5 separate regions of the Homo sapiens genome follow, and all the other regions are linked to region 2. The links are contacts of gene promoters, found by promoter capture Hi-C in blood cells and fetal thymus (Javierre and others, 2016). All regions are on one chromosome and are shown on one strand. Each heading gives the region's core, a stretch centred on a gene start or on the middle of the fragment in contact. The rest is flanking DNA. Distances are from core to core; before and after follow the strand shown. Region 1 overlaps ZSWIM6 (zinc finger SWIM-type containing 6). Region 2 holds the start of SMIM15 (small integral membrane protein 15). Region 3 overlaps ZSWIM6 (zinc finger SWIM-type containing 6). Region 4 overlaps ZSWIM6 (zinc finger SWIM-type containing 6). Region 5 overlaps ZSWIM6 (zinc finger SWIM-type containing 6).

Evidence for each region. The method cuts DNA at HindIII sites, captures the fragments that hold promoters and counts their contacts. A CHiCAGO score of 5 or more calls a contact.
Region 1: a contact is called between a fragment that was not itself captured here and the fragment with the promoter of SMIM15 in region 2, in 2 of 17 cell types (monocytes and neutrophils). The highest score is 8.0, in monocytes.
Region 3: a fragment that was not itself captured here is called in contact with the fragment with the promoter of SMIM15 in region 2 in 2 of 17 cell types (monocytes and neutrophils); the score reaches 7.7 in monocytes.
Region 4: a fragment that was not itself captured here is called in contact with the fragment with the promoter of SMIM15 in region 2 in 1 of 17 cell types (monocytes); the score reaches 6.6 in monocytes.
Region 5: a fragment that was not itself captured here is called in contact with the fragment with the promoter of SMIM15 in region 2 in 3 of 17 cell types (neutrophils, monocytes and M2 macrophages); the score reaches 9.0 in neutrophils.

What each region holds. Positions count from the first base shown.
Region 1 is chr5:61,384,101-61,387,441 of GRCh38, forward strand. All of the region lies in intron 1 of ZSWIM6 (zinc finger SWIM-type containing 6), which reads left to right. Among named protein-coding and RNA genes, the nearest start is that of ZSWIM6, 54 kb to the left of the region's middle. The HindIII fragment of the contact is 1,009 bases long and covers 1,290-2,298 here.
Region 2 is chr5:61,160,690-61,163,872 of GRCh38, forward strand. SMIM15 (small integral membrane protein 15) reads right to left here and starts at 1,779. Exons shown (of 3, transcript NM_001048249.4): 1 at 1,528-1,779; 2 at 399-538. SMIM15-AS1 (SMIM15 antisense RNA 1) reads left to right here and starts at 1,627. Exons shown (of 4, transcript NR_109908.1): 1 at 1,627-1,837. RefSeq lists enhancers at 946-1,842, 1,328-1,407, 1,478-1,737, 2,268-2,367, 2,408-2,467 and a silencer at 1,918-2,027. The HindIII fragment of the contact is 8,836 bases long and covers 1-3,183 here.
Region 3 is chr5:61,401,673-61,404,925 of GRCh38, forward strand. All of the region lies in intron 1 of ZSWIM6 (zinc finger SWIM-type containing 6), which reads left to right. Among named protein-coding and RNA genes, the nearest start is that of ZSWIM6, 71 kb to the left of the region's middle. The HindIII fragment of the contact is 2,778 bases long and covers 138-2,915 here.
Region 4 is chr5:61,360,956-61,364,057 of GRCh38, forward strand. All of the region lies in intron 1 of ZSWIM6 (zinc finger SWIM-type containing 6), which reads left to right. Among named protein-coding and RNA genes, the nearest start is that of ZSWIM6, 30 kb to the left of the region's middle. The HindIII fragment of the contact is 177 bases long and covers 1,582-1,758 here.
Region 5 is chr5:61,341,302-61,344,617 of GRCh38, forward strand. The region is part of intron 1 of ZSWIM6 (zinc finger SWIM-type containing 6); the gene reads left to right. Among named protein-coding and RNA genes, the nearest start is that of ZSWIM6, 11 kb to the left of the region's middle. The HindIII fragment of the contact is 5,685 bases long and covers 1-3,316 here.

The sequences.
Region 1 (3,341 bases), core at 544-3,043, 220 kb after region 2:
CGCGGTGGCGGGCGCCTGTAGTCCCAGCTACTCGGGAGGCTGAGGCAGGAGAATGGCGTGAACCCGGGAAGCGGAGCTTGCAGTGAGCCGAGATTGCGCCACTGCAGTCCGCAGTCCAGCCTAGGCGACAGAGCGAGACTCCGTCTCAAAAAAAAAAAAAAAAAAAAAAAATTTCTACTGAGAAACACTACTACTTTACTGACACCTAAGAATTCTGCCAGATAAAATGTTGCTTTCTTTGCTAAAACAGAGCTCTTTGATCTTTGCTGGTAAGAATTCTTCTGAACTGAATAAAAGTTTTTAGAACATGCATGGTGGTGAAAAGTATACATAGCCCTTTGAGTCTGGGCAGGGAAGAAAGAAAGTTTCACAAAGGCTAAAACAAGCCACCACTCTCATAAAACCTGATGAACAGTTGAGTCTGAATTCATGAGATTATGGGGTTTAGAAAGTGTGAAGATGGATAGGCGACCAGTTTGGCTTTAGTGAGATTATTGTTTCTGTTTGCTTGGATAAAACTCAGGTGCTGGTGGGGTGACTTTGAATGTTGATGGAATATTAGAACTTTTGTGTCCCCCAAACTGCTTAAATCTTAGGTCTGTTGGACCATATGTAAATGGCCTTCTTTTCATATTCACTTTTTTTGCTCTGCCATCTTGTAAAAATCTTGGAGGAGGCCGGGCGCGGTGGGTCACACCTGTAATCCCAGCACTTTGGGAGGCCGAGGCAGGCGGATCACGAGGTCAGGAGATCGAGACCATCCTGGCTAACATGGTGAAATCCCGTCTCTACTAAAAATACAAAAAATAATTAACTGGGTGTGGCGGCAGGCACCTGTAGTCCCAGCTACTCAGGAGGCTGAGGCAGGAGAATGGCGTGAACCCGGGAGGCGGAGGTTGCAGTGAGCTGAGATCGTGCCACTGCACTCCAACCTGGGAGACAGAGTGAGACTCCGTCTCAAAAAAAAATCTTGGAGGAAACTCCTGCAGTCCTGGGGTTTGACTAAGTGGTCTGTGCAGCCCCTTCCATCTCTAAGGTGCAGTGCAGTCTGTCATTTCTAATGGCAGAACTCCATGGACATGGACAACACAAATACTGGTTAATGGTGTTTGGTATATTCTCTTCAAGAAGACAAATATTTTGAGAAATATTTTTATCAAAAGTGGTAAAAGGGAAACATTTTAGAGTTTAAAGGAGTTCTCCCAAGCCAGCATGTATTCCTGGGTTGTCCGGGAAATTCTCGGCTCACTCTTGAGTTTGACATCACCTTTATAGATGACCATAGTTGAAGCTTAACTATTTCAGGGCGGCATGATAAATGAGAAGAATAATGAAAGGCATCCGATTTGACAGAAAGAACACTTAATTTGTAGTTAGACCTGAGTTTAGATCCTGGTTTTAGCCATTACTACCATTGTGACCTGGGGCCAGTTTTTAACTCCTGTGGGCCTCAGTTGCATTAATTGAGATAATTTGTTTCTAGTATCTTGGCCCCTGCATTGGCATTCTATCAATGTTAATGCTCTTTTCTCTTTCATTGTTTCATACTAGAATGCACATCCTCTGTATAGCACATACTGTCTAACATAACCAGGCAGCGTAGTTTACTTGGCTTCTTCATTGAAAATCCATTCAGTTCTTTTGGGAGGCTTCCCTCAGCCCCTGTGCCCCAGGGTGTGCATAATCCTGCTAGCCATAGTGATGATGTCCACTGGCTCTCTTGTCTTTCGAATAGAGGCAAACACCCCAGACTGTTGGTGCCTGATTGGATTCGACTCATGGCCAGCTTTGGATGTGGGGTTTTCAGTGGGGTTCTTGCACAGGCTCAGGGGGAGAACCCTCCCAATAGCCACACTTCTTGAGGTGGTGGGCACAGGTAGGCATAGGAGGGAATGGAAACAGTGGCACTATTGCCCAGCAATTGGACTATGCTAAAGATGGGAAATATTTGAGGCCTAATCTGCATTTGGTTTTCATATATTTCATACTAATTAGGAACACATTTCAATGCTTTGAAGTTGTAAAAAGCTCTCCTGCATACATTCCAAATTGATGTTTCTCTGCCCTGGATATGCCATACATTTAGAGTACTACATCAGGGAAACACAGACCTCAGAAAGACCTTTGGTTTATCCCCAGTGCATCTGTGGACATTTCTCTTCCTGCTTCTGAGTTATTTGCCCGGAGTGATTTGCCTTTGCTTTGTACCTTGTTAGTTTTTTTCTCTCTCTGTTTAAGCAAGGATTAATGCTTCCTTTAATTGGGCTGTGGCTGTTTTACATGGATTGGTGATTGCAAAGCTTTTTGGAGCAGGTGTGGAGCAATGAATAGTCTTTTTAATTTCATTTTTTGATTTACATTTTTTTTATAACCACTTCTGCAACAAATGGTGAAACTCCATGGCTACCCTCTTTTTCAGTCAATGGTTAATGGTTTTTCCATACTCCCCAGCTGCTTATCATGGGCACAGCTGACAAAACCAGAAGAGCCTTTCTAGTAAGGTGAGCTGAGCTGGCATTTGTACAGGACAAAGGACTTTGGTAGAATTAGGGCTTTGACAAAGTGAACAAATGTAAAGGCAGCTGGAAACTTGAGTGTTGCTAATCAGGAATATATTTTGAGATTCTGAAGTTTCCAAAACATGTGTGTACTTAAGAAAAATAACCCAACAACGTGTGGGTTAATAGATTTTCCTGTTTTAAAAATCCCTTTGTGTGGGTTTTAAAGATGTTTTTCATACTTTTGAACAGTTTACTGTCTCAGAGAACATTACTAGCTCTCATTTTATTTTTGAGGCTCTTTATCCACGTGCTCCTGCCAAATGCCCTCTACCAACCACTCATTTATGGGCCGGTTCCTTTATCTTTAGTTGTTAAGACTCTTTTCAAGGGAGCCTTTGCCTTTTGTTGTATTATTTATGATATTGATAATGAGCATTCTATAGAGTTCAAAAGGACTTGTTCTGATTATTGAGAGTTTACTTCTCTGCTGGTAGTTGCTTATGTCAGAAAATAGCTTTCTATGGTAGATTGGCCATCTGCTTTTGGGAGAAATCTACACTTTCCCCCAGTCAGCAAATGGATAATATCAGTAATAAGATACAGTAAATTGGCTGCCCCAACCAAACAGCATATTTATATAAGTTGCCTGAAAACTAGGGTTGTGTCCATTCCATGTTCTCTTCCATATTTCATGCTGATGAAACTTACGATTATTTTAATTATCACCCCTGCACTAAATAAAATAATGGGATATTTCAAATGTAAGAAATTGAGAAAAAGGGCCATGTGTGATGGCCCATGCCTTTAATCTCAGCACTGTGGGAGGCTGAGGCAGGTGGA
Region 2 (3,183 bases), core at 529-3,028:
CAGAGAAGGAGAGATGACTATTTCCCCGAATGGGAAGGAGAGGGTAAGGGAGTCATGACATCGCATTAATATGCCAAAGAAGCAAAAAGTACTGTGCTATTTTATGCCCTTTCAGCTTTGAGGACCTCTGTTGGAATAAGCCTAATTTAATAAATGAGAAAGTAGCCTTAACAGATGCCATGTGTTTTGTTCCTTTTTGAGTGTAAGGAAAAGGCAACTGGCAAATGAGGATTATGTGACTTGAGTGACGTTTTCTATTTTGCCCCAGAGGCTTTTCTCCCTTTCATGTTTGTGTCAACCGCTATTCAAAGTGGAGAATTAGAATACCTGGGTAGGGAATGAGTGTATATACATCCACTTACAATTTCAACTGGAATTTTTTTAAAAAAATCATCTACCTTATGCTTGAGTAGTGATCCCTTAACTTTGTCCTGGTGTTATTAGTGACCCAATCACGACTTCAGATGACCCTTGGTAGTCTGTCTTCTTGAGTTCTACTGTACACATCTGAGAGACGGTTTAAATTCTGTACAATTGGCTAGTTGGAAAGAATACAAAAAATAAAACAAAATTTAAGTCACAATTTCAGGATAATTGTAATAAAATTTTAAATGGAAAATTTCTATATTGTATATATGCAACCTATATGACATCTAAAATTGCCTATCCGGTATAGTAACTTAATACGTTTCTTCCTCATTTGAATTTACAATTGCAAATGCCCTGTAAGAAAATCCTAATTACTGGAAATCAAGTATTTTACTAAGTTACTTATTTCAATAATAAAATTTTTTTAGTTCATTGACATACGGGAGACAAGTTGGCTCACTGACTGACTTACACAGCGTATCCGTTCCTAGATTTTCAATTTTTATACTAAAAATGTTGCCACTCATTTATTTACTGGATTAGGTACACCACTACAAAATCAAACAGCTCATCTTACTCTTTATAAAGGTTTTTTTGGGTCCATCATACAATTTGTGTCCTTTACTTAAAAAATTAGAAGACATAACCAAACAAATTATAGTAATTCACCCACAGTCCCATTACCCCAAGAAAACTGTGACTAGTTTTAATTATATCTTCCCCACGATTTTCAACTGAACACACATGAAAGTGCCTAATACGTTAAATATCTTAGCTCCTGGACTTCATACGACCTCACCCATACAGTTAGAATTAGGTACTACTGAGATCGATCTGCCTTCACCTTCTCCAGCCCAGTAGCGAATAAACAATGTAAGTTTCAGAAATAAGCAAAAGAACTTTGCAGTAAAAGAGCCATGGTCCACAGGCCACACATCTCCCTGCAACTCAACTTCGGACCCAAACGCTCGCGCCTCCACACTTTCAGGAATAAATCCTACTCTTCCGCCCAAAACGGATCGACCAGGCTCGATCTCCCAACCAGACCCGCGTGGCCCCTGCGGCTGCAACGGGTAGCACTTGACGGCCGTCCGCACTTCCTCCTTTGTCTTTCCCTTATTCCTTACGTTTCTCCCTTGCTCACTCTTCCCTCCTTACCCTATCGGGGCTGCAGACCCACGGAGGCCACGTTCACTCCTGCCCGTCGGCCTTGGCAAGCGCGGGCCCCTTGTCGCGCAGAGCGGAGGGTCCTGGGAGATCCTGGGTTGGCCCAGCCACACCTTGCGCCGCCGCCGTTTCTGCTGGACACCAGGAGAAAACCACGGCAGCTGCAGCCACCAACTTCCCCTACATAGCCCCACGGGATCGGATCCCACTCCCCACTCACCGCCAGACCGGAAGCAGGAAGGCGGAAGTCGCGGCCTTTGCGTCCCGCCCACAGGCGACCCGAGCCGCCAGCCGGGCGTGAGTAAGTCTAGGGCCCAGTTTCCGGCTGCGCCATTGCTGTGTGGGTCTTGGGACCTCGAGTTGGAGGACGCGGGAGGGTGGGGGCGGGGGCAGGGCAGCGCTGAGATTTCCGGGGAGCGGCAGGTGAGGCCGCGCGGGGCGGGTGACGGCACCCGGGCGGGCTCCTTTCCAGGCTGGAGCCCGAGACTGCCACGTCCTGCGGGGACCAAGTGGTGGGCGAGGAGGCGTGGAGCGGCTTCAGGACTCGAGGAGCGGTTCCGAAGCAGCTAGGGACTTTTGCCTTTGCCCCCCGAGGTCGATCGGAAGACAACCCCCATCCCCTGCTGTAGCGGGACAGTTGGAGGGTCATGGGTGGGTGAAGTGTTTGGCTGAGGGAAACTCAGACCAAAGAGCAGCGGCAAGAAAGCAGTTGGGTCCCCACAAAACGCCCGAAGTCAAGGTGAGGGTCACACAACGACTCTTGACGATTCCGGCGAGTTCATCCTGGTGCACATCCCACTCCATGCCTCTCTCTTCTGGTTGGACAATAGTTACATCCTTACGAAAAGGAGGCAAGCTACTGGGCCTTGGTGGATCCACTCAACCTTGTTACCAAGGGACATGCCGCCATGCTATGTGAAAAGGGGGGTTTTGTTGTTTGTTTTTAATTTAAGTATCTAATTCGTTTCACGAAAGAATGATCAATACCGGCCCAGAGTAAACTTGATAAGTAATTAAACTGTCAGGGCATAGAGTTCCCATAGAGGTGCTTGTTCTTTCAATACACAAATAAAGGGATGCAAAAGTCAACATGCAGAAAGGGTGAGTTAATATTGTCTTCTAATCTACAGGAACTGAAAGATTAGCTAATCTGGTTTGGTTGGTGACCAAATTTTGTGATTGCTTGCACTGTTTGACTACCTCTGACAAATGTTGCAAGACCTCTTCACTGATTCTCCAAAGACTATAGAATGTTCTCTTTCAGGAGCAAGCTGCGACATGTTTAACTAGTTTAGGTAAAACAACAATAACTGTTATTTACCAGGGAACAGGCTTTTGGCAGATAATCTAACGATCTACGATACTGTTCGTTGGGCATATGTTAATGTTTGTAATGTTGTATTACCAGCAGTTGTTTTCTTACTCCTTTTTATTTGAAAACCTGGATGATAGTTTCAAAGCCTATGCTGCTTAGGCCTAGCCTGTACCTTAGTAGCCAGAAAAAGTAGACTCAGTCACTGGATTGTGTGCACTGAATACTTACTTGAGATAACTGATTTTTCTAAAACTTCCCCAAGTCTTGAATCCAAGATGTGGGCAGAATGTATTATTTTAACATCCTTCGTTCCAGAGGCCAATGCGTGTTTT
Region 3 (3,253 bases), core at 277-2,776, 240 kb after region 2:
CCAGATTTGACATGGAGGTAGTTTATAGGGTAGGCCACATCTGCATTATTGTATTTTGTAACTTGTTCTTTGTAATATAATTTACTTAGTTGCATCAACCTATATGACCTTTTCTTAATTTGATATACTACAAAAGAAGCTTTAGCATAAATGTTTTCAAAATAATATCACTGCCCAAATGTCCCATTAAGCCAAGCATTTTATGAATCAGCAAGACCAGTCTCCTCTCCCTGCTGTCATTTCTTTTGTCCTTCCCCTTTTCTCCCTCCTGCCAAGTACTTGCATATCTGTGTGCTTATGTTAGCAGCATCCACACTGATACCTGTTCTCTTTTTTTTTCACCCTAGCTCCAGGGGTAAAAGGAGAGACTGAAAAAAAAATATTCTGGAAGTCTTAGATATGGGATAAAATTCAAGGAAATGATTTCTTATCATCTTGTCACCTTTAAAATGTCGTTAATGGAACATGTACATCCTGAGTTTGTAGATATTTCTGTGTTTGGGATGCCTTTTAGTGTAAAGTATCAAGCAGCAAATAGAGCACACATTCTGTAGAATTAAAGAACCTTAGAAAAGATGACTATGAAAATTTTAAGTACATTTAGGGGAAGGAATGATTCAATGGAGAGAATGAATTTGAAGATATATCCATAAATGCTTGAAGTTCTAATGTGGTTTTTAGTTACAGCAGATCTTTTAAAACTACAATGGAATTTTGCCATTATGTCACTCATTATAGTTGGAATTCTACTTTAACTAGATTTGTTTTCTGATTTATATGAAACCTTAATTGCTTGAAGTATAGACTTAAGTTAAAATTTTGTAGCATGGATTCCAGAGATTCTAGTTTGTTTTTTTTTTCCCCCCAGGAAGAAAAACAGGAAGTACTATGTCCAGAAACTAACCAAATGAAGGTGTTTTTAATGACTAACTTTCTTCAGAGAATAAGATACTGTATGGTTTCTAGATTACAGTGCTTTAGGGCTAAATGTGGAAACTGGAACTCCAATATAAGGTTTTGCACCTTAAAGGTTAAGTATCCATTTGTATCCAATAACAACTTAGGAAATTTAAAGTTGTTATTCCCACAATAATTATTACTTTGTCCCTATGGGAATATTTAGAATTTGTATTTTTGGGCATAATATCTTATTTATATTTCACTGTATTTATAGTTGAACCTTATATCTAAATGAATGAGAGAAATTAACTCATTTTTGTATGTAATTTAATTGTGTAGCATTCACTAATTGCTAATGATTTGCACACATGAACAAATCAAACAAAAATCTCTGCTCTTATGTTGTACACTTAGGTAATAAGGTGGTAAATGCATGTATCTAACTCTGGATCTCATGGTAAAATTAAGAGAGTAATTGTGCATTACACCAGGAATAATGTGCTGTTTACAAGTGGATGTCACTTGCCAAGTTTACACATCTGATTTAGAAGAAACAAAGATTTCAGACTTAATTGAGGACACATGTCTTTGATAGCTTTCTTGAGGTAACTCTAGTCCTTTAAGACTATCTTGAAACCATCAGCAGGATTTATTTTAAAAATCCTCCAGTTGAGGCAGCCATTTAAAATTGAGTAATTATTCCCTGGGGCCCAGTTCTTTATTACCAAAATTATAGCATTTTTAGGGTTTAGAACTCTCTTGGGCTCTTAAAGCCATGTTGTTTAGAAAAATTAAAATGTAAAAAATGGCCTAAGATTTCTAAACCATGTGACCTGTGGTCAGTCCTGTTCCTCTTGCTATAGAGCAGGGGACCATTGTAAACAGGAAAATTCTAATCCATATGCAGCTAGCAACTTCAGCCTTTCACAGACTAACAACTAAGACCACTATGAGCCCTATAGCTCCTTTATTTCTCGCATGGGTGCCTCATCACATGGAGGCCAGGGAAGAAGGAGCCTGGGAAAAGGAACACTTTGTCTTCAGATTTAGAAAGCACACTTGGAAAAGAAAAGAGAATCTTTTGAATAAAATCAGAAGGGAATACACGCCTGTAAACAAGATTCTGGAATCGTACAAAATAATGTATGCTTAGACTCTGCGTGTGAGTGGAAACCTTTTTTGGCCAGTGTAGATTTTTGTCATAAGAGGAAGCAGTTTTTAATGTGCAGTTCTTAGTTTTCAATCTTGGGAGCTTCTTGATAATTAAGTGATGTTTTTGACAGTGAGGAAATTAAATTATGTGGGAATTCACTCCCTGAAGTATATTTTTGAGTAGCTTTCCTTGGATAGTTTAACTGTAGTCTTGTCTTCCCAGGATGAATTAGGTGACTTATTGAGGTCTCTTCAGTAGCCATCTTGGGAGGTTTAAAAAAGTAATTTTTTTTTTTTTTTTGAGACGGAGTCTCGCTCTGCCGCCCAGGCTGGAGTGCAGTGGCGCGATCTTGGCTCACTGCAAGCTCCGCCTCCCGGGTTCACTCCATTCTCTTGCCTCAGCCTCCCGAGCAGCTGGGACTACAGGCGCCTGCCACCACGCCCGGCTAATTTTTGTATTTTTAGTAGAGATGGGGTTTCACCGTATTAGCCAGGATGTTAAAAAAGTATTTTTTGTACCACCGGAAAACTTTCCTTCACATTTTCTCACTTATCAGTTGCATTCTTAAAATGATTGCATTTTTTCCCCTTGTTCCCAATGGTTAAATTTTTATTTACTTTCCGATCTTTAGGGGAAAGAATGGCATAAATTAAGGCAGATGAAAAATTTCAAAGGGCTGCCATCGCCCTCTTGAAGTTCACATTGTCTCCAGCTCCTCTAAGCCATGGCTACCACCTCTCAAGGCAAACTCCCATCCCTGTTTTGCTGTCTTTGGCTAGGATTTGTTGGTAGGCAGCAGACCTTATGGTAGAGGAGGGAAGATGAACTTTAAAGAGAAAAGTTCTATAGCCACTGTTGCTAAAGCTTTTGCTCTTTCTATTCTTTTCTGCCAGTAGCTGCCTCTTTGTTTGCTGGGAGAGAAGTAGAAGAGAGAAGCTAAGTCCAAGAGAGGAGAGGGATTTCACCGCCTCCTTTAGCCTTCTTGCTCCTTTCATGGCTCTGCCCCATATTCTCATTTTCCAAACATTCCAATCACCTAGAGAGGGTTGTTTTTTTGTCTTCGGGTTTTTGGTTGTTTTTATAAAATAGAGTTCTTGGGGCCCACTTTTAGTTATTATACTTAAGGAAGTCTGGGGCTTCAGTCCTGAGAATCTGTGTATTTCTTGAGTTATGCAGGTAATTTTGATGCCCAGTTAGATT
Region 4 (3,102 bases), core at 420-2,919, 200 kb after region 2:
GGTGTGTTATATAAGAAGCCCCTTAATGTTAATTTTATATTTAAATCAGGACGAATAAAAAGATGAAATACATATATATTCTTGTGGTCTTTTTCCTTGTGTGTGTGTGTTTGTGGGGGAGGGGGGTAAAGTCACAGAGGAGTGGGAGTAGGTCCCAATGTGGACTTTTCCCTGGGCTGAAGGAGAGGGACTTACTTTTGAATACCTACCATGTGCCAGCACTGTGCTAAGTGCTTTAAACACATTGCTTCCTTTTAATTATCCTGTGTGAGATTGGTAGTTACCTTTATTTTACAAATAAAGGTAACTGAAACTGACTTTGTGTGATGAAAAAGTAATAGAAGTGGGATTGAAACCCTCATCTAACTGCTTCTGACAGCCAGGTTCTTTCCTCTGGATCACCTGGAAAAATCTCCAGTTTCTTATCTGTTAAATGAGGAAACTTGGCAAGATAATTTTTAAGGCCCGTTTTTCAGTATCATCCTCCTGATTCTGTAACATACTAATTGTCCTGAGCAGTAGTTACCTCTTTTCTAAGTAAATATTGAAAAAGAAAGTTAGCATCCCACTACAGAAATGTGCTGTATTATTAAGACCAAGAGTACTGACAGGTTATTTGTAAGAAGTTATGAACTAGACAAAGACATTTAAAGTAGTCATGATACTGGATTTTCATGTTTGTTTCCAGGGAACCCCCCTTACCTCCAACTGAGGCTGCTGCCCAGAAGATTAGAAGCTGTGGCTTGTAACGACAGGGGCTCAGGATAAAGCCTTGGGACAACTCCAGTCTAAACAAAAGGCAACCCTGTTATTCTATTATACTTTATGTTGAAAGCATTTGCTCCCAGGTTATTAACTATTATCCTTTCCTCACAGGAAATTTAGTGTGAAATTTGCAAGAAGATCGTGGAAAATATACTTTAAGGACAAGATTCACTGTGGTGCAGTTTGGCACCTTTAGAACGCTAACAGACAAACCTAAAATGATTAACCATTATGTGAGTCTCCCACATGTTTTCACATATGGAAATAGGTGGTTTAAATGGATACCAACATCCTCTCTTGGTATACAGTACTTACCATAAAATATCAAGCGAGTATTCTTAGATATGTATCAGCAAAGTAAGTAAATTTCCAGGCTCTGTAGCATCTTTTACTGTCTTTACTTTATAAACATTCTCCAACCCTTCCTCATTCATGCCTTATTTTTTTAAAATGGGAAATTGAGATATGCCTTCTTACTCACTTTTTTTTTTTTTCTGAGACAGTGTCTCGCTCTGTACCCCAGGCTGGAATGCAATGGCCCCATCTTGGCTCACTGCAGCCTCTGCCTCCCGGATTCAAGCAATTCTCGTGCCTCAGCCACCTTAATAGCTGGAATTACGGGTGTGCGCCACCATGCTGGCTAATTTTTGTATTTTTAGTAGAGATGGGGTTTCGCCATTTTGGCCAGGCTGGTCTCTAACTCCTGACCTCAGGTGATCTGCCCACTTTGGCCTCCCAAAGTGCTGAGATTACAAGTGTGAGCCACTGTGCCCAGCTTTAACTTTTAGTTTTACAGGTTTTCCCTGCAGTAGAAGAAGCTTGCACAGGGAGCCTCAGCTCATGATTTTCCTCCCACCTCTCTGGCCACTCCTTCATTGAGTTTTGGTGCTTCATCCTCTATCTGCCCTCTAAATGTTGGTGTCCCTATCGTCTAAGGCTGGGCACTTTTCTCCTACCTGATGCCCTTTTCTTAGATTATGCCAATTATCCCAAAGCTTTCTGTGCCATCAAGTGATGACTGCAGTTTTTATTTCCAGGTCTGACTGCTCTCCTGATTGCTTGCTTATCTTTTATATCTGTTTAGGTCTGGCAGGCATTTCAAGCCATTTTTAGACTGCTACCCCTGTAAAGTAAGAAAATTTACATCACAACCCAGTACACACATACGTTACTATAAATAACAGAAACAGATTTTCACAAGACAAGACTTATCCCTAAAACATGCCATGCTTGCTGATGTTCTCAATAATACTGTCTCATTTCCATTAAAAAATGCTTTCTGTGACACACAGCATTGGCCTATGACCTCTTAGTGGTTCAGGAACCCACTATTTGAAAAACACTGTTCTTGAGCCACTGTAGATGTTTTTAGAGATGTTGTAGGGAGCCAGCTTACATATTGGAGACTGTGCCCTCCTTTCCCCACCCCACAGGGGGCACTGCCTGCAAGGAAGGTGTTTGATCTGAACCCTCTGAGGCCAATCAAATGGAAAAGGTTTAGTACAGGCTAACAGCACCAGTTTACAAGGCTATCCATACAAGAATGATTACATCAACTCGTGGAAAGTGTCATCATGGAATCAGAGTAACCTCTTGGTTATTTGAAATTGTTTGTTATATAGAATTGGTAAGAATACCCTGTAATCTAGTGACATATAGAACCAGTTTTGAATAGTAACAGAACTGCCTATAAGATTTTATAGTACTTACCTTGCACACTTCTGCTGAGTTCACAAAAGGCTGACTAAACCCTTGTTCTCGGCAATCTCATCTCTGATCCCAAAGTGTTCTCATACTTATTTTAGACTCAACATATTTTCTAATGAAGCTTCTGGAAATAGCTGGTATCATATTACGGAAACTTATTATTGGCACAGTGCCTTAATGATTAGTTGGCTTGGGGGGTGGGGAGAGACCCTAGCTATCAAGGATGGACGTAAAAATACTTTGCTAATATGAGCACTGCTGAGGTTTAAGTCATTCCTGAGGTAAGCTAAAATATGTTTAAAGGTTATTAAAAAGGCACACAGTTTCTCATTTAACATTTTGGTATTAACTTTAGAGGCCAAGAGTTTTAAGTAGTCTCTGTAGGATAGTTTGTTTCCTTCCTTCCTTCCTCCCTTCCCTTTCCTTTTCCTTCCTTCCTTCCTTCCCTCCTTCCTTCCTTCCCTCCTTCCCTCCTTCCTTCCTTCCATTCTTCCTCCCTCCCTCTTTCTTTCTTTTTCTTTCTCTCTCTCCTTCCTTCCTTCCTCCCTCCCTCCCTCCCTCCCTTTCCTTCTTTCTTTTCTTTTCTTTTCTTCCTTTCTTCTTTCCTTTTTTTCTCTCCTTTCTCTCTTT
Region 5 (3,316 bases), core at 468-2,967, 180 kb after region 2:
GGCCACCTGCTACCTTGAACTGGAATAACTGGGTGAAGAATTACCTTGTTTTTATTAATCGTCGTAAAATGTATGTACATCTCACATTCATTTCAATGTTTAATATTAGAAGTGTTGTGGTCTTTATTTAGAAGTTTGGTGATGTTTTTGTGACCAGAAATATGCCATAGGAAATTACTGTTTATGTCAATTAGCCTATGATAAATTGGTTTTGTAATATGTCATTTTGATTACAGTCATTTTCCGAGAACCTATTGATGGCATTAAGTGGAGGACTTGCTGTTACATGAATGTATACATATACCCATATAATAAAGAATTTGCTGAAAGTTTGAAGTGCTGATACAGAACAACAGAAGTTTGCTCTCAACTTAGTGTATATATGAAAACTTCTCCAGTATTGTTTGTATTTGACCAGGTTTTTAAAATATAATTTATTGTTTTTGTCAACGTGCCTCCTCCTCCTTCACCGGTAAATAGTATACACATAATCCTTCAGGATGTACCTATACATATATGTACTTCTTTCACATAAATGATGTGGTCTCCAAACTGTAGTACTCTCTGTAACCTTTTTTTTTTTTTTTTTTTTTTTTGAGATGGGGTCTCCCTTTGTTGCCCAGGCTGGAGTGCAGTGGTGCAATCTCAGCTTACTGCAGCCTCTGCCTCCCGGGTTCAAGCGATTCTCTTGCCTCAGCCTCCTGAGTAGCTGGGATTACAGACATGCGCCATGACGCCTGGCTAACTTTTGTATTTTTAGTAGGGTTGGGGTTTCACCATGTTGGCCAGGCTAGTCTTGCACTCCTGACCTCAAGTGATCCACCCACCTCGGCCTCCTAAAATGCTAGGATTCAGATGTGAGTCACCACACCCGGCCTTTAAAGCCTTTTGTATGACTTGGGGCAGTTCTTCACTGAACCAGCTGGATGTGATTTATGGTGAGACTCTTTAACACTTCTACAACATTTACTAATAGTAAGAGTAATAACAACTAACATTTCATAGCACTTAACCAGGTGCCAAATACTGCCCTGGAATATAATCAGAAGAAGTGAGTAAGACCTACTGAGAGTATATTCCACTTCCCTCATTTCCTTTTGTGTTTCTTAACAGCCATATGAGTTAGGGACCATTATTGTTTCCGTTTTACAGATGAGGAAACCGAAACACAGGGAAAAAAGTAGAAATAACTTTTATTGCTGTTAAAAACAGAGCCAGACACATGCAGCCTCTTTGGTTGGTGCTCAAGCAATACTGTCCATGATGCATCATCATTACCTATTCCAGAAGGTTTAGCTTTACAGTGTGTTGCTACTTTCTAGAGTGACTTTCACAGTGGCCTGGATTTTAAATTGTGATCAAAGGTATCATTTTAAAATGTTATTTTTTTCCAATTGAGAGGATTTATTTAAAAATCATAAGGATATTTACACATATTAGGATTTAAAAAAATTTTGGTTGTCTTAAAATGGACATACTATAATATTGATCATCTTAACCATTTTTGTGTGTGTGGTTCAGCAGTGTTAAGTACATTTACATTGTTACGCAAATAATCTCCAGAACTCTAAAATTTTACTTGAAAAACTACTACATTAAAAAAAAATGTCTTTTAGGAATGAATTTCAGCTTTGGAGGATGGTTGTGTTGGGTGATTTTGATCATCTTCCATGAGATGTTAAGTTTTGAAAGAGAAATTAACTTGCAGGTTAGATCTAATCGTATATATGCAGCAAAGTTAGGTTTTCAAAATATATTTGAGAAATTAAATATCTCATTTTAAGGTCCTTTTAAAATGTTACAATTATATTATTTCTTGTTGCTGGTAAAGAGATTTGACATTCTTTGAAAGATAGGGTTTTATCTGTGCAATTCCTGAATGCTGATGTTAATTGGAAGGATGCAGTAGAACCTGTCAGTACATTTAAACTCTTACTAACTGAATAAGCTGATCAGATACTTTGGAAGCTCATTGAGTGAATTAATGTGCTTAAAACTCAGGTGACTGGTTCCCTATTCCTGCCTTGAGAGTCTGTTTACTTAAAGTATTTTTCATTGTTAGTTGGTATCAGATCTCTAATGTTGGAAGATTTTATAGAGAAAATATACATGAGAAGATACCATGTAGAATAAGTCCACAAAAGCAAGTTTTAAATTCTCTTACGTAATTACAATCAGTACAGATTAGAATTTTGTATACGCCAGGTTGTATGTGATAAATGTTTGCTGATAGTTACTAGCATTTTTATGAGTGTAGTACTGTGTAGGGATTCTGTAATTTAGGTATAAGGGGCATACCTGGAGTCTTTTCTGGTGTGGCTGTAGGTCTTTGTTGGTAGAGGCCTGGTCATGCTGAACCTTTACTCCTGCTGCTACCTTTTCTATTAACTCATTTCTACAAAGAATATTGTGATTTTTATAATAAGTACTTGTCATAAAATAAGATTCTAAAACCCAAATATCATGTTTGTAATCTAGTTGTTTTATGTGAGCAAACTTTTAAATATGTAATATGTTAGCCCTGTTCCTTTATGACTTTGTTTTTTAGTGTTCTGCAAGTTTCCTTATCCTTAGCACTTTGGACTTTTTTTTTTTTTTTGGTGAGACAGAGTGTCTCTCTTGTCACCCAGGCTGGAGTGCAGTGGTGCAATCTTGGCTCACTGCAGTCTCCAATCTCCACTTCCTGGGCTAAAGTGATTCTTCTGCCTCAGCCTCCTGAGAAGCTGGGATTACAGGCACGTGCCACCACGCCTGGCTAATTTTTTGTATTTTTAGTAGAGACGGGGTTTCACCATGTTGGCCAGGCTGGTCTGGAACTCTTGCCCTCAGGTGATCCATCCACCTTGGCCTCCCAGAGTGTTGGGATTACAGGTGTGAGCCACTGTGCCTGGCCAGGATTTTGTATTCTTGATGCCATTTTTACAGTTCTTTTTCCCTTCTTCCCCCAAATACCACTTGTGTAATTTTTGTCTGATATACGTTCAGCCCAGTGAACTAGCCAGTCTTTTCACGATTGTGGTTTATACTTTTCTCTAGACAGTGGTGAAGCTGATGAGTGAAATGACCAATGGCTGCTTTGTGATGATGGCAGGGTAGAATCAAGTGAGACTTGAGGGCAGCAGGTGCGGAAGACTGTGAACTCAACTTGCCTCACAGCTCCAGTTTGTTCTTTCTTTCTTTCCTTTCTTCCCTCATTTTCTTTCTTCTTTTCCTCTGTCCTTTCCTTTCTTGGGGATGGGGTGAGGGAAGGGAGGAGAAAGGAGTGTGTGGTAGAAAAGAAGACAAATCAGAAGAGATAAGTAATACCTACTGAGAG